Linked DNA regions of Homo sapiens: regions 1, 2 and 4 are each linked to region 3. The links are contacts of gene promoters, found by promoter capture Hi-C in blood cells and fetal thymus (Javierre and others, 2016). All regions are on one chromosome and are shown on one strand. The core of a region is centred on a gene start or on the middle of the fragment in contact, and the rest is flanking DNA. Distances in the headings are between cores, read along the strand shown.

The links. The method cuts DNA at HindIII sites, captures the fragments that hold promoters and counts their contacts. A CHiCAGO score of 5 or more calls a contact.
Region 1: a contact is called between a fragment that was not itself captured here and the fragment with the promoter of SLC9B1 in region 3, in 5 of 17 cell types (M2 macrophages, total CD8 T cells, erythroblasts and 2 more). The highest score is 6.8, in M2 macrophages.
Region 2: a contact is called between a fragment that was not itself captured here and the fragment with the promoter of SLC9B1 in region 3, in 16 of 17 cell types (M2 macrophages, megakaryocytes, M1 macrophages and 13 more). The highest score is 14.4, in M2 macrophages.
Region 4: a fragment that was not itself captured here is called in contact with the fragment with the promoter of SLC9B1 in region 3 in 14 of 17 cell types (total B cells, M2 macrophages, erythroblasts and 11 more); the score reaches 11.6 in total B cells.

The regions. Positions count from the first base shown.
Region 1 is chr4:102,854,803-102,859,660 of GRCh38, forward strand. LOC124900903 (small nucleolar RNA U13) reads right to left here and starts at 4,694; the gene lies at 4,591-4,694. It also overlaps a transcript of UBE2D3 not described here. The HindIII fragment of the contact is 1,369 bases long and covers 2,452-3,820 here.
Region 2 is chr4:102,801,197-102,806,477 of GRCh38, forward strand. It overlaps UBE2D3 (ubiquitin conjugating enzyme E2 D3), which reads right to left. Exons shown (of 8, transcript NM_181891.3): 5 at 1,365-1,442; 6 at 258-363. Among named protein-coding and RNA genes, the nearest start is that of UBE2D3, 24 kb to the right of the region's middle. The HindIII fragment of the contact is 1,908 bases long and covers 1,926-3,833 here.
Region 3 is chr4:103,016,260-103,021,516 of GRCh38, forward strand. It overlaps SLC9B1 (solute carrier family 9 member B1), which reads right to left and starts at 3,446. Exons shown (of 12, transcript NM_139173.4): 1 at 3,340-3,446. It also overlaps a transcript of SLC9B2 not described here. RefSeq lists an enhancer at 3,287-3,787. The HindIII fragment of the contact is 6,332 bases long and covers 1-4,081 here.
Region 4 is chr4:102,820,667-102,826,176 of GRCh38, forward strand. The region is part of intron 2 of UBE2D3 (ubiquitin conjugating enzyme E2 D3); the gene reads right to left. Among named protein-coding and RNA genes, the nearest start is that of UBE2D3, 4.1 kb to the right of the region's middle. RefSeq lists enhancers at 4,532-5,510, 5,130-5,199. The HindIII fragment of the contact is 2,301 bases long and covers 1,656-3,956 here.

The DNA of each region.
Region 1 (4,858 bases), core at 1,886-4,385, 160 kb before region 3:
AAAGCTTGAGGAATAAGATCAAAAACTTAAGAGGAAACCATAGTTAGTGTTAGGAGTAAGTTCTGAAATACTGTTTTGCCATGCCCCACTTTGCTTTGGGACAATCAGTGCCAAACTACTGATTGCTACAGAAATCACCAGCAACAGATCAGGCTTCCTGTAGGATTAGATAAAGGGTCTGTTGAAGTGAGTTGCCAATGAAAAAGTGGGGCTGACCAGATACTATAGAATATTGGGGCATTCACCCCTCCACTCCTTCCCTGCTGCCAGAATTTTGATAAATTATAACAGCCTTCTGCTGCTGGATTGTGGATTTCAACACAGATCCTTACTAGAGAAACAGTAGCAAAGAGAGAGCATCAGTTCTGTGGTTGCCTACAGCTCTTGCTTTCTGCTCCTTAAACTTGTGGGAAGGGATAAAAACGAGGGTCTGCCATTTTGCTCTACCTTTCTATCCATTATTAGAAGGGGTAGTAGATAACACTAGGAGAACATGGCTTGTGAACCAAAATATCTAGACACCTGAGGAGTATGATCACTATCAAACACAACAAATTCTACAACATGTACCAACAGAAGTAGAATAATAGGATATACCAATACTTTTAATAACTCAATTATTCATTCAACACAATTTGTAAAGATACAGGGTCTCACTCTGTTGCCCAAGCTGGAGCAATCATAGTTCACTTCATGCAGCCTTGAACTCTTGGGCTCAAGCAATCCTCCTGCCTCAGCCTTCTTGCTAGCTGGGATTACAGGTGTGTGCCACCACACCCACCTAATTTTTAGAATATTGTTTATAGAGACGAGGTCTTGCAACGTTTCCCAGGCTGCTTCAAACACCTGGCCTCAAGCAATCATCCTGCCTTGGCCTCCTGAAGTGCTGTGATTACAAGCATGAGCCGTTGTGCCCAGTTCATTCAGCAGTTTTTTACTGAACACCTACCAAGTGTCAGGTACTAAGGATTCATCAGTCAACAAGATAGGTAAATAATTTTGTTCATGTGGGACATGGCAAGGGGGACAGAGACAAAAAGATACAAATTAACTAAATAATAAACAATTTTGGAAGGTAATATTTACTACCAAAACAATGCAGAGTAGGTAGATTGGGACTGATGAAAGGGTTGCCATTTTAAAATGAAACCCATCCTAAAATAGGAGCCACAAAGATGCAGGGTTGCGGTGAGGCTGGTAATATGTGAAGAGTGAACAAGAAACCATAAAGCCATATGAGATTATTAGGTGTGGAAAAATATGAGCTAAAATAAGGATCATAGCTGGGCATGGTGGCTCATGCCTGTACTCCCAGCATTGTGAAAGGCCTAGGCAGGCAAATCACTTAAGGCCAGGAGTTCAAGACCAGCCTCGCTAACATGGCAAAACTCTGTCTCTACTAAAAATACAAAAATTAGCCAGGCATGGTGGCGCAAGCCTGTGATCCCAGCTACTCGGAAGGCTGAGGCACCAAAAATTTCTTGCAACTGGGAGGCAGAGGCTGCAGTGAGCTGAGATTGCGCCACTGCACTCCCGTCTGGGCAACAGAGCAAGACGGTCTCAAAAATAATAATGAATAAAAAATTAAAAAATAAAGAACATCATAGATAAATAGCAGGTGGATTGGATCTTATGATGCTTTTGAGATACAGAATTTTAATATTTTTGTGCAGTTAAAATCTCTAGAACTTTTCCTTTGTGCTTTCTAGTGCTTTCATGCTTTGAAAAAACCTTTTTATCCAGAGATATTTTTAGGTTGATAATTAAAATATTTAAAATCATAATATTCGTATATGGAAAGAAATTCAAACAAAATAAGATACTAGAAAGTAAAAGGCCTCATCTACTGTCTCTCCTCCTTTCCTCAGAAGTTATCATTTTTCTAGGTATCCTTCTAGAAATGTTCTATGTATAATCAAATACATGTAATTTTTAAAATTTATAAATAGGATACTATACATACTTTCTACAATTTGCTTTTTTCATTCACACATATGGCCCTACTCCAGAGATTGAGGTTTTAAATATCAGGAAGAATTTTATTTAGAAGGCAAAACTACAGAGACAAAAGATAATTGGTTACCCAGGGGTATAAGGTAGGTAGGGGTAAATAGGTGGAGCATAGGGCACTTATAGGGTAATAAAATGATTATGTATGCTACTATTATGGTGGACACATGACACTATGCAGTTGTCAAAATTGATAGAACTATACAGCACAGAGTGACCCCTAATGTTAACTATGGATTTTAGTTAATAATGTAGCAGTACTGGTTCATCAGTTGTGACAAATGTACCACACTAATGCAGGATATTAATAGGAGAAATGGTGTGTGTTGGGTTAGAGGGTGACATATGGGAATCTGTATTTTCTGCCCTGTTCTTCTGTAAATTTAAAGCTATTCTTTAAAAAGTCTTTGAAAAAACTTCATTTAGAAAAACTATTCTTAAAGCTTTGTATAGAATATTTTAAAATTGGAGGCTAGAGGTCACATATCTGGTAGACTGTTGCTATGGCCCAAACATAAAATAATAAAGGACTATACTATGGTAGCAAATAAAATTACTTTGAATAGGTTTGCTAATACCTAAGAAAATTTCACATTAGAAATTGAGTGGAATTTAAAGTTTCTAATATAAAGAAATCATGTGTCAAACATAGTGTTAATCAAAAATAGGAAAAAACAATATGCATAAAAATTATGAGAACAAAAGGAAATGTGGCTGAAAAGATGCTAATAGCCATAACATGTTGAATATGTTGTTTCTTTTTAAAGTTAACATGACACAGAGGAACCAGGAAATGCGTCTACTGCATTTAGTTTTATTTATGTTCTTAAATTGTTTATTTCCAGATTTCTGTAACATGTATATATATTTTTAAATTCAATTTTATTTTGTGTGTGTGTGTGATGGAGTATCACTCCCTCGCCTAGGCTGGAGTGCAGTGCTGCGATCTCAGCTTATTACAACCTCTGCCTCCCGGGTTCAAGCAATTCTTCTGCCTCAGCCTCCTGAGTAGCTAGGATTACAGGCATGCACCACCATGCCTGGCTAATTTTTTTGTATTTAGTAGAGACAGGGTTTCACCATGTTGGCCAGGCTGATCTCGAACTCCTGACCTCGTGATCCACCTGCCTTGGCCTCCCAAAGTGCTGGGGTTACAGGCATGAGCCACCGTGCCCGGCCTGTATTTTCTTAAAAGATCAGCCATTACCAAGTTATTATTGGATGCCTTTAATCTCTTTTGTTAGTGTATCCATATTCCAATAAAAATTTATTTATAAAAACAGGCAGTGGTCTGCTCTATAGGATCTTGCACTAATAAGTTACTTTAATTCTTTAAGGTTGTCTTGAGAATTAAAACACATAATGTACAAATAAAACACCATGATTTGGCATATAGTAAGCACTTGAAAATAGTAGTGGCTATTTTATTAAAATAGTGTGTTATCATACAGCTCAAAATGCTGATAAGATGAATCTGAAATTCAGACTTAAAAGTATTTTTATTATAGTAACAAGGTTATATTTGGGATTTTAAGTTTTGTTCTACCACCAGTGGTAGTTTAAGGCTTCTTGTATAACGGTTCTTTGTGATGTTTTTCTTGTCAGAGACACGTGTGATGAACTCTTGGGACATGTTCCACTACTTGGGGATCCTGGTATTTCCTTGCTCAGTTTTCACAAGAAATAGGTTTGGCATCTCTAGGAGTATCAAATGAAGATGTTCAGAAACGACACAAGGTGTCGTTTAAAGTTTAAAGTCATTTTCGACTTTAAAAAATATTCTATTGATATCCATTAATAATGTAGTAAAAGCTTCCAAGTTACTATAAAGTAATGGTTCTGGAAAGAGCATGTTAATTTAAAAAAATAACTACTTTAGGTATGATTGACATGTAAAGCTGTATATATTGTATATAATACAATTAGTTTGGGGATACATTCTAATCATTTATGATAATAACAACTTAGATCTCATACAAAAACTCGACACTTTAACTCATCTATCCTCTCCCACATTGTTATCGATGTCAAAATTTACATTTTTATATTGTGCATCAATTAACAAATTACTGTAGCTATAGTTATTTTTAATACTTTTAACTCAGAGTTAAAAATGATTTTATGTATCACCATTACATTACAGTATTCTGAATGTAACTCTATACTTCCCTTTACCAGGGAGTTTCATACTTTCACGTTTTCATGTTGCTAATTAGCATCCTTTAGTTTCCACTTGAAGTACTTCAACTTTAGTTTCAGTTTTAGCATTTCTTGTGAGGCAGGTCTAGTGGTGATGAACTCCCTCAGCTTTTGTTTTTGTGGAAAAGTCTTCATCTTTCCTTTTCTGAATGACAGCTTTGTGGGTAAATTATTCTTAGTTGGGAGGCTTTTCTTTTCTTTCAGTATTTTGAGTATATCATCCCATTCTCTTCTGGCTTGCAAGGTTTGCTGAAAAACCTGCTGAAAGTCTTATAGGAGCTCCCTTGTACATGACAAGTTGCTTTCCTCTGCTGCTTTCAAATTCTTTGTCATTAACTTTTGAAAATTTGATCATAATGTGTCTCAGTGAAAAAATTTTCATATCAGACAGGTAATGTGCCAGTGTTTTGGCAAGGTCTGAGAAAGGCACATCTTACACAATGGTATGAAAACCCAATCATCATGCTTATGAACCACAAAAAGATCAATGAAGACATCTTTATGTTCAACCTACATGGAATTCTTTGGGAATTGTGGATCTGGATGTTCATTTTCCTCCCCAGATTTGGGCAGTTTTCTGCTATTATTTCTTTAAATAAGCAATCTGCCTCCTTTCTCTTTCTCTGCTTGCTCTACCACTTCTATAATG
Region 2 (5,281 bases), core at 1,630-4,129, 220 kb before region 3:
AAATTTTGCTATTATAAGATGAGATGAAGGTAACTCATTAGGCAAATAATGCCTACTCACCACAATTTGAATTTTAACAACTTCTCACAAAGTATCTTTAATCAACACCACTAAAAGAACAAAAATTATAAAAGTAACTTTATTGCTTCCCCATCTCTTACCAAAAAGCTGCCATAATAAAAATACTCAGATAAGTAGATCTAAGAATGAAGCTTTATTAGACAATGAGAACAGCTTATTTCACTAGAAATATTTACCTTTAGAAATTGTTAAAGCAGGCGACCACTGTGATCTTAGAATATCGAGACAAATGCTGCCATTACTGTTAATATTTGGATGATAAATTCTTGTTGTAAATGCAACCTAAAACAAAAACTTTTAAGTATTTTATTCAAATAAAAACAAACATCTTTTAAAGCAAAACTTAAAATAATCAAGCCACAATGTTAAAAATGTCATCTATTAGCATAGAAGTTCTAAATATTATAGAAACTGATTTTTACAATCTGACCACAACCCCCTGCCTCCTCTTTTTACAACAGAAACCTAAACTTTTGGATAAAAATTTCATTACTCATATGATGTAAAGTTCTAAAGGTTACTGTGGCCCTACCATATCATGAATCAAAGGGCAATTTAAAGGTATTTAACACATTCATTTATAAAAGCCCTAACTTTTGGATGTAACCAAAATTTGTAGACCATCTCATTTAAAGTTTCATTAAGTTACACAGGTACACCTGAGTCTGCATTTCCACCGTACATAAAACATAAACTTGAATCACAAAAATGGAAACCATCACATTGCACCTATAACATTACTAGAGATTGTTATAGTGACATGTTTATGACCTTTGTATATTACCTTTTCTAGTTATTCATACAGGTTGAATTTATGTTAATGACTGAAAAGTGAAGGATAATATGCTTTTAATACCTATAAACCAGTGCACTAAGCAACTCTAAGTTTTCACAAATTTACACTTACGTATACAAAACTATAAGCATAATAAGCATATGCTGTAACAATACGTGCAAATATAAATTGAAGTTGGACATTTGATGCTTACAAGACAACAAAAGCCCAAAAATCAGAATCTGTGTAACAATAATACAGATGAGGGCGGAAGCTTCCACATGGTCTGAATCTTGCAACATTAAAGAAAAGGCAAACCTTATTCCTATTTACAAAGCTCAAACTGAGGTCTAGCTCTTTAAACCAAAGGTTAAGAGTCAGCATCTATACATGAGTGCAATTCAACATATATATACAGCCTACACAGAACCCTATCTTCCAAGAATGCTCTATTCCTTTGAAATAAAGCATAAATCTATACTAACAGATTTTGAGGGAAAATACTTGCCTTAGGTGGTTTGAAGGGGTAGTCTGTAGGAAAATGAATTGTCAAAAAGAATACACCGCCTTGATATGGGCTGTCATTCTGTAAAAAGAAAAGTATGCTTAACTCAAATTTAAAATATTATTGCTAAATATTCCGTAACATTTGTTTCCAAGCATTTCTCTAATAATGAACCCAAATCACCTATTTACACTGCAATAAATAATCTATTCCATGAAAATTCAGTCTATAGTAATAGAAAAAAACTTAAAACTTATACAGTAATAAACCCTAATTTATCTAGTCATTTTACACGTCACCAAAATGTTTTTTTAAAAAGTTATCCAGAAACGCAAGTATTCTAGATCTCAATTCTCAAAAGTACAACACAGCAATAAAGCCTACATAATCATGTTTCAGAATAATCTGTAAACAAAATTTTACACATGTAGATTATTTCTTCCAATAGCCAGATGTGTACAAATGGCTTCACAACAGTCCATTCTGCCCACTGGCAAACCAAATGTTAGCTATTCCAGGTAACACACACACACCACCTTCAAGAGGAGAACAGAGAAAAGCCTAAGCTTCTCATTTTAATCAATACCAGAAAATACATGCATTGCCCCTATTTTATGCATGAGAAAAATGAGGCTTAAAGAACTTAGTCTAGTGTACAAATGGTAAATGATAGAACCAAGATTCAAACACAAGTCTTTTGAAGACCACTTAATGATCAAAGATACTGACCTACTCAGGAATTTAAAGTTAAAATGTGGAATGCCTAACTGCTTCTGGGTATGCAAAGAACCAATCCGAAGACATGTTTTACAACTTACATGAACTGGGTTTTTACCAACACTGACTCCCCTCTATTAGAAAGGCTTTGTATATACAGCTATATATGAGCCTTTCACTATGCCCATTCTGGATGTCAGGCACATAAAAAACAGGCCTGACACTAACACAGCTCATCTAATTCCTACCCTTCTGTAAAATAAATAAACATTAATTCAATTAATCTAACCCCTTGCTATATACTGTATGTGTGTTAAGGGATCCAAAGAACAATTTTTTTTATCTTGATGAGCTTACACTGATAGACATGTAAAGTAACTGCAATGAAATGTTATAGGTATCATGAAATATGAACAAGGGACACGAGTTCAAAGAAGAAAGGTCAATTTATTAATGAAGAATCAGGTTCAAAGAAATATACAACTAGTAAATGGAAGAGCTTTTATTTATTTGAGACGGAGTCTCACTCTGTCGCTCAGGCTTAAGCGCAGTGGCACGATCTCAGCTCACTGCGACCTCTGCCTCCTGGGTTCAAGCAACTCTCCTGCCTCAGCCTCCCAAGTAGCTGGGATTACACATATGCACCACCACACCCAGCTAATTTTTGTATTTTTAGTAGAGACTGAGTTTCACCATGTTGGCCAGGCTAGTCTTGCGGCCTCCTGACCTTGTGATCCACCCATCTCGGCCTCCCAAAATGTGCTGATTATAGGTGTGAGCTACTGTACCCAGCCAGAGCTTATTTAAAGTGAGTCCTTCTCCATCTCCCAAGTCTTCCCCCTTTTTTTTTGTAGGGGTGGAGGGCGGGGGGAATGGGAACGGGAAGGGGGACAAACAAGACGCAGAATATCATCTTGCTGTTTGTTGCCCAAGCTCGAGTAAAATGGTGCAACCTCAGCTCACTGCAAGCGCCGCCTCCCCAGGTTCAAGAGATTCTCCTGCTTCAGCTGCCTCAGTAGCTTGGATTACAGGTGTGCACCAACGTGCCCAGCTAATTTTTTATTTTTAGTAGAGATGGGGCTTCACCATGTTGGCTGAACTCTTAACTCCTGACCCCAGGTGATCCGCCTGCCTCAGCCTCCCAAAGTGCTGGGATTACAGGTATCAGCCACCGTGCCCAGTCCTTTTTCATATTTTCTACAAAATATGGAACTAGAAAAACACTCAGGTCACTTAGAATGTGACCTGAGTTTATTAGATTAACATGTCTTTATTAAATAGTTATATTAATTTTGAATAGATGCTTCAAATAGCATATACTTTCACCTGATCCAATACTATACAAGATATGTTTTTTCTGTGTAAAATTAACAATTTAAAGGTAATCCCAAACACTAAAGTTGTTTTTGTTTTTTTTGAGACAGGGTCTTGCTCTGTCGCCCAGACTGGAGTGCAGTGGCACGATCTTGGCTCACTGCAACCCTCTGCCTCCTGGGATCAAGTGATTCTCCCACCTCACCCTCCCGAGTAGCTGGAACTACAGGAGTGAACCACCACAGTTGGCTAATTTTTTTTGTCTTTTTAGTAGAGACGGAGTTTTTGTTGTCTTTTTAGTTGAGAGGCTGGTCTCAAACTGCTGAGTTCCAGTGATCCACCCACCTTGGCCTCCCAAAGTGTTGGGATTACAGTCGTGAGCCACCATGCCCGGCCCCAAACATTGAAGTTTTAATAACCTAATTCCAGAAGTTCTTTGTAAGCTTTCATTTCAATTTTCATAAAATCAAATGCTGTCTATGACTGCTTCTGAATAAAGGCAATCTGCTGATGGGATTTAGGCAAAGCCAAATTTCGTTTCGTTTGTTCGAAAAAAGAACTTTATAAAGAAGGCAAAATATTTCAATGTTACAATTTAACACTAAAGTTCTGCCATGCCAAAAGAGGAAGAACTACGAGGTTCAGAGATAATGAAACTAGGCAATATAAAAAATTGAGACCCTATGATATTTAAATTCTATTATGAATCAGCAGCAAACTACACCAAAAAGAAACAAAATCCCCAAAGAATAAGGAACACTGTGATCAGCAAATCGACTCAAATCGTACAAGTCCAGAATTTATGTTAGATTTTTTCAGAAACCTTCTACTTCTTTTGCTCTCATCAGTGCAAAGTTGCTCCCTCACAGTGCCTCAGCTCTTCTGTGGCAATAAAACGTTGGTATTCTTTTTTTTTTTTTTTTAAAGTGGTGCTGTCGCCCAGGCTGGAGTGCAGTGGTGTGATCTCGGCTCACTGCAACCTCCACCTCCCAGGTTCAAGTAAATTCTCGGGCCTCAGCCTCCAAAGAAGCTGGAATTACAGGCATGTGCCACTACACCCAGCTAAAAATGCTGGTATTCTTATAGGTTGATTTTCTACTCTTAACTGCTGACCCATAAAAATTTGAGTTGCAAAATATATCTCTGGTCAGTTATTCATTCCAGGGCATATATTCAAATGCCTACTGATATTTCTACTTGGATATCTCTACTTGGATATCTCATGTCATGCGTCCAAAACTGAAACTTGTCTCAATCCCTTTTTTCCTGTTTATTAATAGCAAGCCATAACTGAAAGCCATAAACCAGGATCTCATCATCAACTTCTTCCTCTCTTATCTCAGAATCAAGATAGTTATCAAGTAAGATCTTTAAAATTTCTTGAATTAGCTTCTCCTTTATGCCCACTGTCACTACCATCTTAGTTCATGATGTTATCTTCAGCCTAGATTATGGCAATAGCTTACTAATGATTATCCCTCCATCCTAATGATAAAGTGGTCTTTTAAAAATGTTACTCCCCTGCTTGAAATCTATGATAGTTTTTAAGATAATTCCAACTCCTAAGTACATACGGTGCTTTATGATCTGGGTGCCCATCTAGTTTCATCTTCTGTCTCTTCTATAGAACATGTTCTCTACTGCACATAAAATATTATATGGATAACATATCTTTTTCTCTTCCCTACTTGGAATATTCTTCCTTATAATATAGCCCTTCCTTTGTCTTATCTGCTCCCTACCCTTCTTTTATACCTCTTTAAGCACATAGTTACCATTATCCACCCATATATCTAACATTTACTTATATTTCTCTTTTATTAGACTACAAAGCTCCTCAACGAGTAAGGTTAAAGGTGGAAAAAGTCTTCAGGTATCAGTAACCTACG
Region 3 (5,257 bases), core at 2,196-4,695:
ATACACACTCTCTCTTATACCATCATTTCCACCCCCCTCTATTGGATTATTCTCAGTCTAAATATGCTTAAGTGTCCTTATCTTTAAGAACCCTTCTTTGACCATACATATTTCTCTATTACCTCCATTTCTTGGCTCTCTTTCATAGTAAAACATCTTGAGATGTCTATAGTACTACGTCAATTTCTGCCCAGCCAGCAGTACTATGTCAATTTCTTGACACCACATTTTCTCTTTATTGTACTAGTCAAGGCATATAACTACTTAATGTTTCCAAAACCCAATGCACAGATCTCTTTATTTTATTTGACTTCTAAGCATGATTCAGTACTGTTGGCCATGTTTTGTAGTCTTGGCTTTTTTTTTTTTTTTTTTTAATTGAGATGGGGTTTCTCCATGTTGGTCAGGCTGGTCTGGAACTCCCGTCCTCAGGTGATCCACCCACCTTAGCCTCCCAAAGTACTGGGATTACAGGCATGAGCCACCATGCCCGGCCAGTCTCGGCTTTTATGTCACTGCACTCTTCAGATTTTCTTCCTACTTCATTGGCTATTCTTCCATCTCTTTTGTTGGCTTCTTTTCCTCTGCTTTACACTAGTCACTGCAATGTTATCGGTGAGCACACTTGCCCTAGGTAGTTTTCCATATGCTGGTGACTCCCAACTTTGCATCTTTGGTTCCTTGCACTCTGCACAGAGCTGAAGCCTCAAATTACCTTTGATTTCTAATAAGAATGTAAAAATTAAGGTAAGCAAAATAAAACTCCCCCCTCCCACCGCCCTGGCTGCTCCTTTTTCTTCCTTAGTCTTTTCCATTTGGTAAATGGCACAATCATCCACACAAGCTCAAGACAAAAATTTAGGGGCTAGAGGTGACTCCTTTTTCATCACCTCTATATTCAAAACATCACAAAATCTGTAGGCTCTGCCCCCAAAATAGAGCTCACATACATCTACTTCTCTGCTATTTTATCCCAAACTTGTCATTCCTCTTTGGATTTCTGCAATTATCTTCTGCTATAGATCTTGCTCCCCACCCAGTATGATTCAGTCATCACATAATAGGCAGAACAAACCTTTTTACAATGTAAATCAGATCCTATCACTCCCTCCAACTCACTACTGGTTTCTCTTTACACTTTAAATAAATTCCAAACTTATTCCATGGGTAGATTTCCATGGCCTATTCAAAGCCTTACATGATTTGGCCCCTACCTATCCCTCCAAGCTCATCCTGTACCACTTTCTCTACATTTTAGCTTCAGTGGTCTTGATGATGTTCCTGGAAGGAGCCAAGTTCTTTCCTTCCTTAGGGCTCTTGCAATTGGAGTTGCCTTTACCTGTAGTGCGCTGATCCCAAATATTTCCATGGTTGGTTTTTAAAAATATCACTAAGCAATCAATCTAAACTAACCCCTCCCCCAGTCTTAAGGAAGACCTTTACAGTTTTACTTCTTCACTGTGCTTACTATTATCCAAAATTCCTTGCTCATATAGTTTACCTATTTTCTATCTTACACTCACTAGAATTTAAACTTCATAAGAACAGCGATCTTGCTAGTCTTTCTTACCATTGTATTCACAATGCCTAAAACAACGCCTGACAAAGTAGGATATTCTTTAAAAAATACTTAATGAATGCCTTTCCCTAAGCAAGTCACTTGACTTCTCTACTTAACTCACACTGGTGAGTTTACTACTGCTAGACTAAGCTCTGGATCCAGGAAAAACAAAAGTGGCTAAGGTATGGCTTCTTCAGAAGCTCATCCATTCATTCCCTCAAAAAATATTTATTGAACATATATTACACTATGTTCCAGGTACTATTCAATCTCAGTGTTTAGTAAACACCACAGTAACATGGGATTTGGTTAACCAACAGAAGTGTTTAAACAGGATGAGTACAAAAATAAGTACAAAATGAGAAGTACTATAAAAACGATACTTTATATGTTACAACTATAGCACCCACCTATTTCCTTGTGTCTAGTAATTGGCAGGACCTTATGACAAGAGCCAACTGAAAAACAGCAGTATAAATTCTGGTACTCTAAAAGCCCAGACTTCACCACTGTGCAATATATCCACACAACAAAACTGAACTTGTACTAACTAAATCTGTATAGAATTTTAAAAAGTAAGTTAAAAAAAATTCTGGTACTCACAGGGGACAATACCTATGAATGCCCTTTTCATAGGCACACAGTGACTAAAATATTTGGGGCATGAATTCTCTAGGGGTGACAATAATAAGTGTCATTTTTCATGCTTCTGTTGCACACATAATTATATTTATCTCTAAGGAAAATCAGAGAGTGGGGTGTGGCCTCCCTCAGTGCCACCTGGGCCAGTTGTCTCCCCACATCACCAAATCTGTTATTTCACAGGCTCTAGGACACCCATAGAGGGGGAGTGAGGGACCTGGTATGGTCCCGTGAAGAGCTCTTGTAACACTACTGATTGATGTGACAGACACAGTATGTGTGCAACTTTCCTTTTTCCTTCAAAAGCACTGGTCTAAAGCAGGGATCCCCAACCCCTGGGCAGCAGACAGGTACAGGTTTGTGGCCTATTAGGAACAGGCCACACAGCAGGTGAGCAGGGCTAGAGGATTATGCCTGAGCTCCAGCTCCTGTCAGATGAGCAAAGGCATTAGATTCTCATAGGAGCACAGACCTGATTATGAACTGCGCATGTGAGGGATCTAAATTGCGCCTTCTCAAGAGAATCTAATGCCTGATGATCTGAGATAGAAGAGTGTCATCCCATCTTGCCCCCCACCCCAAACTGTCTTCCATGAAACTGATCCCTGGTGCCAAAAAGGTTGGGGACTGCTGGAAGTGCTTGTCCCCTGGGTTAAAGCCAAGAGGAGTAAACAGGATTAAGGGGCGTGGATGTGGGTGGGTGGGGGAAGAGAGCTTTCTCAGGATCGGCAACCAATCCCAGAATCTCCAGTCGCAGGAGCATGTATGTGAAGGTTTATTTGCAGGGATCCACCGTTTGTAAAATAGTACACGCTTAATAAAATTAATTTTGAGGTCAATCTTAACTGACAGATCTCTTCTTTCTTACTGGCGAGTATTTGTAAAATAAGAAAAACAGGAGGAAAAGAGAACAAACAAGAGAGATGTGGGATGACGGAGTAAGGAAAGGAGTCACGGAGAGGAGAGACAATGTCTGTGGCTGTTCCCTCAGCGTCTGGGAGAAGAGCCCAAGAATCCCATTGAACTGAGGGGGAGGAAAGGCCCTCCTGCGGCCTACCGCAAGGAAACGATCGCGGCAGACCCGGGACTAGCGCCAAAGGGCTTGGAAGGGCGGCGTTAAGAAAAATGGGCCGTACCTACAACTTCTTTCGCAGCCCTCGCTGGCCCGGGAGCGGCCCAGGAGCCCAGTGACCGTTGCGTAAGCCACGCGCCACCCAGGTGGGCAGGGTGGTGACGCGAAAGCCCGGATAGACTTCCGCGCAGGGGCGGGGCGGGGCGAGGAGGCGGCAGCGCGTTTAAGTGACGTCTTGGCTGTCCGCGCCGGCAGAGGCGAGGGTTCTGGGGTTTCTGGGACTGTCTGGTGTGTTTTCTGTCTATTGAACCCTTTCCTTTCGACGTCTCTTCTGAATATTGACTCATCGGGTTGTAGAAATCCAGGGACAGAGTTGACATCACTGGGCATTTTAGCCAAAAAGCAGTGCTCGGGACTGCATGTGCCAGAAGTAAACTTGTCAAAACTCAGATTGTGTTTCCCCTAAAGTCAGCTTAAAGTGCAATGGTAGAAGAGCACGGTCTCTCCCCAAGACGGCCTGAGCTTAAACTGCAGCGCTGTCACTTGCTAGCTATGGGACCTAGGCAAATACATCGTCTCCCTGAGGTTGTCTTCTCATCTGTAAAGGACGCTGTGGTGGTGGTGTGAGAATAAATGAGACATGGCAAGTGTCTGGAACAAAGACGCTGTGTACAAAGTAAACACTTAATATACTGTTATCAGTATAAAACCTTTGTGAGTTTTTTTTTTTTTTCCGCATGAAATCTTATGTGGAAAGTTGTATGTGAAAGAAATGAAAGCGGAGCTGCGTTGATGGTGGGCCCAGAAGCTTTGGCCTTTCAGTCCCAAAGTTTCCAGTAATAGAATCCGCGCTTCCTATAAAAGACAAAAACAACTGTTATTGGAGAAAGTGTAAACTTCTTAGAAAGACAAACTGCCCTTTCCTATCTAATGTTTCTCCTGACACTCAATGTTTACTCTTGAACACTGTATTCCTTTTTGCCTCAGTGCGTTCTGTAAAGTTAATTCCTCTACCGGAGTGTTCTTTTTCTTAGTCATCATCTAAGATCTGATCCAAATTACCGTTCCTTCTTGGGTAACTTAAATACGAAATTATCTTTTTATTGGTTTTGTTGACGTTGTTGAGACAGGGTCTCACTCTATTACCCCGGCTGGAGTGCAGTGCGATCTAGGCTCCCTGCAGCCTCCTCCTCCTTGGTTCAAGCGATCCTCCTGCCTCCTGAGTAGCTGGGACTACAGGTGGGCACCACTACCCCCGGCTAATTTTTGTATTTTTAGTAGAGAGGAGTTTCACATATTGCCCAGGAGGACTTGAACTCCTGGACTTAAGTGATCTGCCCGTCTTGGCTTCCCACAGTACTGGGATTACAAGCGTGAGCCACCACAGCCCTGCCCTTTTTATTGTTTTTAACACCTTCCCTCCTTCAACGTGTTATAGACATCTCAGCAAGGATTTATTTTTCTTCCTCGTTTCAGGAGAGTAGACAGGGTTTCATGATTATAGGGTTAAGGAAATGTTTTGTACTCATGAAAAGGAAATGTTTTGTACTCACAGGAAAAGCAGGTAGATCCCTAAAGATAATGGGAGTTGGGACAAATGGTAAACCTGGGAAGGAAGACCTTTGCTAGGAGTCTGTTTGCCTCCAAGGCACTACTCTTATGCTCTAGAAGGAATGGGCTCCTGGAGAGGTAAGTGCTTTAGGGTCCATGTAAGGAAGATGGAGCGCACATCAACAAATGGAGTTTTGGAATTCTCACCAGGCCAGAGGGCTCAGGCTGGATTTGAGTCAGTCAACTATAAATATAATATTACGTACTCCCCAAATGCCATGAAGCAATTCCCACTTGTTACAGAGAGGTACATAAATGATTCATATAAAAATATAATGTTCTGAGACATTAAAAAAATACAGTGGTTCTTTGGGAGACAATATAATGAAAATTTACTAATAAAAAACATTTAAACAATCATCTGATAACCT
Region 4 (5,510 bases), core at 1,556-4,055, 200 kb before region 3:
AATTTAGATTTGAAGCTCTGCTCCATGAAAGCAAGAAGGGTGTTTTATGGACATTAAAACAAACAAAACAAACAAACAAACAAAAAAAACAAAGATTAACAGCCAAACAGCTGCCCAGTAGTAGAAAACATTCAATTACACATTAGCCATGAAATTACAGCAAGGTTAGGATTAATGTAAGTATTTCATACTGAAAAAGGTACAAGAAATCATGATTCACAATTGACAAACATTTAAATACGACAAATTCAGCTATGAAAAGTTGAAGGTCTCTTTTACAATAGATTATGTTGAAAGTATCATTAGGAGATAAAAATCAGATGTTTCAACAAAGTATAAAAATACTTCCCTAAACTTTTCCCTTCCCTACATAACAAGGTTGAGGATACAATTCTGAATAAATCTTATCTAATAAGAGAAACTGGGCAGTAAGATATTTGGTGAATGCATTCATTTTTAATTATGAAATAACACTGCTATGGTAGCAAGCTCAAGACCACAACATTTCCAAGAATGGAGAGTTTTATTTCATTAATTTCAAAATACTGGTTTTGGCAAGGGGAATTAAGTCATTATAATAAAAGACAAATCACATTGTAATAATACTAGTACAAAAAATACAGTATAGAAAATTTATTTTAAATACCTCCCCTACTAGATCTAATATTCTTGAAAGGTAAATTACAAAGTGACAAACAACTATTCATGTGTTTACATGCTTATTTTCACCACTGAACGCAGAGATTACCATAGATAAGGACCATCTTCCTCATTTATTCCCTGGGACTAGAATACTACGTCTAATGCAGATTAGGACCTTTACTCCCTTGTATCTGTGGTTCTTAATCAGAGAGGAGCTTCAGAATCACCTAGAAAATTTTCAAAATTATGTGTTTCCAGGGAAAATGATTTAGTAAGTCTAAGACCCCCATGCAGCTGTATTTTTTTTTTTAAATTCTAAACAATCTGACATTTAAAAATAAGTAAACAAGTATAACTGGATTGTAACACAAAGGATAAATGCTCGAGGTATATACCCCATTTACCCTGATGTGATTATGCATTGCATACCTGTATCAAAATATTTCATGCAACCCATAAATATATACACCAACTATGTACCCACAAAATTTTTTTAAAAACTCCAAATGTTCTGGAATATAAATGTAATTCATGTCACACCCAACAATATATAATATTCAGTAAGCTCTTCTATACGCTAACAGATACAAGAAAACTGCTATTTAAAAAAAGAATGCAAAAACCAACCTAGGTTTGAGATTTTAATCTGAAACATTTTTTTATCTCAGTGTTACGAACCTAGTTTCTTTTTTAATAGATAGATTATAGCAACATGCTGTGGAGAATCCTCAAAGATTGCCTGTCTTGGATAAAAAGGGTCACCTAAACTCAGGGGCAAAGTTTGACAGAGCAATCTAGTGACACAGTAGTTCATCCCAGTGATGGAGCATTCAACTTTTTATTTGTATAAATAACAAAAACTAGAATCAACACTGCAGATGAGCATGATGAAAGAAAAGTATGCAGTGTCAGTAATGCATCCTTTTTCAAATTAAACAAATACTGAGGTCCTATTATTATCAGCATCCTTCAGTCACAACTATCCTACACAGAAAGTGAGCTGGCTATCAACAAGCTTTGAGGACCATATATGAAACACATGCAAGACAGTTTACCCAGCCTATATACTAGTTGGGGACAATAAATATATTTTGTTCACTCTAAGACATCCTAAGCAGTTAACTGGCACATGTTAGTTTTCAGTGCTTGAAGAGACTACCCCAAAAGAATTAAATCCACTTCTACTTTCAAAATATTATTAGCCAAAATCTTAACTCACAAATTAGCTATAACCTAAGAGTAAAGCTAACTCCCAATTACTTAGATGTATAAGTGGGAGAGCAAAGCAGCTTATTTCAGGTAACAAACTAAAATCACATACATTATAAAACAGGAATTGAAGGGCCAGGCCACGTGGTGGCTCACGCCTGTAATCCCAGCACTTTGGGAGGCTGAGGCGGGTGGATCACGAGGTCAGGAGATCAAGACCATCCTGGTTAACACGGTGAAACCCTGCCTCTACTAAAAAAACAAAAAAATTAGCCGGGGGTGGTGGTGGGCGCCTGTAGTCCCAGCTACTCAGGAGGCTGAGGCAGGAGAATGGCGTGAACCCAGAAGGCAGAGCTTGCAGTGAGCTGAGATCGCGCCACTGCACTCCAGCCTGGGTAACACAGTGAGACTCCGTCTCCAACAACAACAAAAAAAGGAATTGAAATGGTTCAAAAAAGAGCTTGAGCTTTTGGTGCCTATCTGATTTGAATCCCAGTCACTTACTAGTTGTGTGACTAGACGACTATTTCTCTGAGCCTGTTACTTCATCTATAAAATTCTCACATCTATCCCACATGGTTGTCTTGAGGATTAAATGAGTTAGGGTTTAGATGAGACTGCATTGTCTTAACTACTGTAATAGATAATACTATATGCAAAAGTAAACCGTTCTGAATGACAAAAAAAAACTAAAGGATGATATCAAACTGTAGTTGTTAAGAGCACATACTCTGGACCAGGCTGCCTAGGTTCTAATCCCAACTGTCACAACATGAACCTGGGTCATCTTCTTAACCTCTATGCCTAAGTTTTTCAATTTCGAGATGGAGATAATCTTGAAATTATCTCAGTGGAAGTGGTGGTAGGAGGGAAACGAAGATCAAATGAGAGTTTTTTAACCCTTTACCCATGGTTTCCCTGCTAGCCGCTTGCTTATAATCATATATAAACACTAAAGTCATACTTCCAGAAATAAAAACCCTTACGAAAACTTAACAGGGTGTATACAATGAAAACATGAGCTATTCTTTTAGGCTTGGTTCACATATTTATCTTCAAACGTCCCTAAAACACATATATTGTAGTCCCTGTTTAATGGGAGTGGTAAAATTGTCTACAGCTCTCAATACCAATCAACTTGGAGTGCCACTTTTAACTCCTGTTGTTTAATAGCCCTATTTAAGACCATATTACAGCTCGTTCAAATAAAGAATACAGGAAAAAAGTTGATTGGTCTAACAGTCAAAAAACTTACTCCAAGAACACAGCTGAAGCAAAGTATAAATTCAAAAGCTCGATCAAATGGACTAAAGGTTAAAACTATTCCAATAATCATTTCAGTAAAATATTAACGAGGAATACAGATATATCATAATACTTGAAATGTGGGACCTTCAGACAAGAATAAATTCGAAATAGGTACGTAACACAAGCATACCATACTGACATCAATGGCTACTTGACCCCATATTTCTAGAAGAGGTGCCTAAACCGAAGAGCATTCCAGTTCAGAGCTGTCCACTCACTAAAATTGTTGGATGTGGAATGTTTGAAAGTTGCCTCATGTGATTTTAACATTAACAGCTGAAAAACCAAACCACATGCACACGTCAAAGTTTCTGTAAGTTGAATCAATAATGTTCACATAAACACTGGTTTTTCCAATATGCCAAGTTTTTATGTTGTGTCTATATTACATAAATCTTCAAAATATTTACAAAAGGAGACAACCTGGTTAACTAAGAGTACTAAACTAGAAATCAAAGTTCTTAAACAAAAACGATTTTTAAAAATTATAAATTGTGATATTAAAATAGCAGTAATAACTAGGAGTGTCATGTGCCAAGAGCCTGTTCAAATTTGCACATTAATCCATTTAATCGTCAAAACAAATCTAGGAACTTAAAATTTGTTTTGTTCACTGCTGCCACCCCAATGTCTAAAACAGTGCCTGGTACATATTAGGCACACAGTCATTTATTGTTCATATTACAACAGATACCCTTCTTATAGAGGCACATAAACTTGCCCAGAGCTAGAATTCTAACTGGAGCATTTCTGCTCCAATGTTTACACTCTTAACCACTGTTATATTGTCTCTCTAAAGCTTTTAAATCATTTAAGTGGTGTCACAGCAGCTGGGTATGACCTGTAAGAGAAAAAAAATCAGAGGCCTTCCTTTAACGTGTTCTGTTCCACATGCACAAAAAGCTATGGATCTGGTACTATTCCACATTTTAGTGGCCTGAACTAATTCCAACAGAAAAGATTTTTATTTGTACTGAATGTTATGCTCTTTGTGTAAACCACACTGTAACATACAACTAGGCTTCTCCAATATGTTCCTGGCCTTTAAAGTGGTCACAAAAAGAGGTAATTATTTCAAAATAATTTTTACTTTAATCCTTAACTCCTAAAAAGCGTTTCTTCCTCTTTTCTTTCATTTCACAAAGATTTAAATTTGTATTTCGCATAACCCAAAATGACGATGTTATGAAGGCCCAAAACAAAATTCACGATTTCATATCAATACATACTAAGAGTGAAGATTTAAACCTTCCTCTTTCATGAAACACCAATCTTGCCAAATAAACTCCAGTCATAATTAAATACAGGCAAATGTAGTATCAGGTCTATTTTAGTAAAGGCAAATTCTTGCCATTCCTCTCAGAACTCTTTTTAAAAAAGTAATCTATTAAAACCAAAGTTTCTAACACTCACCGACACTCCACAATTTTTCTAGTAAGGCTGAATTTATTCCATGACATTTTTTTCAAGTTAGCTGTAAACACTCCACCCTCTTCGATTGTGCAACAACCAAACACATCACACAAATACAAGTCACAAAAAAGGGAAATACAGTTTAAGAGTTTGAATTTAGGTAAGTTTTGAGCAGAGGATCTTAGAGCAGTGCACAACGCGATATAAAAGTTAACATTTAACAAATCATATTAATTCACATTATTACGAAAGGAGATGCCGGAAAGAGCCTGAACCAGTTAAAGCAGCCGCCATCTTAAAATGCGGGATAGAAGTTAGAGCAAGAAAATGAGACTAAACCACCGGAGGTGGAGGTTCCGCTCACTCCCAGAGCTCCGAAAAATCCTAGTTTTTTTTCAACTTAAATCGATAATATACTATCAAACCACATTTCAAGTAACGAAACAAGGGTGTTATTAAATAGAATGAGGCAAAAATAGGTACATTAGCTTTCCCTTACTGCCATCGCACCCCTTATCCACCCCCACTCTCCAGCCAAAAGGAAAAGGGAGCTTCCAGAATGCCTTTTACATCAGTTCCCGGTGTCCCTCGGATAAATAGCTTCGGGTGAAAAGCTGCAACTACAAAATACAGGAAGTGGCAACACTGTGTCATTCCATCTCCTCCCAAACCCACTTATTCGGTGTAACCTGCCCAGAGTCGACTAAGAGTTTCTACTAGACTCACTGACTGACCTTCAATACGCAAGACTTCTTCTACCCGACCCTCAGTCAAGTTCGGGACTCGCCAGATTTTTTTTCTCTCCTCCGAGTTTTCTTTCTTACCCCTAGAAGGCCTAGATAACCTTGATCTCACAACTAAACTAAGTTTTCAAGCACCAAGAATAGGAAGCGCCATGACATCTGCTGGAGCGTCTCTCCGCAATTCGGACCCCCAAA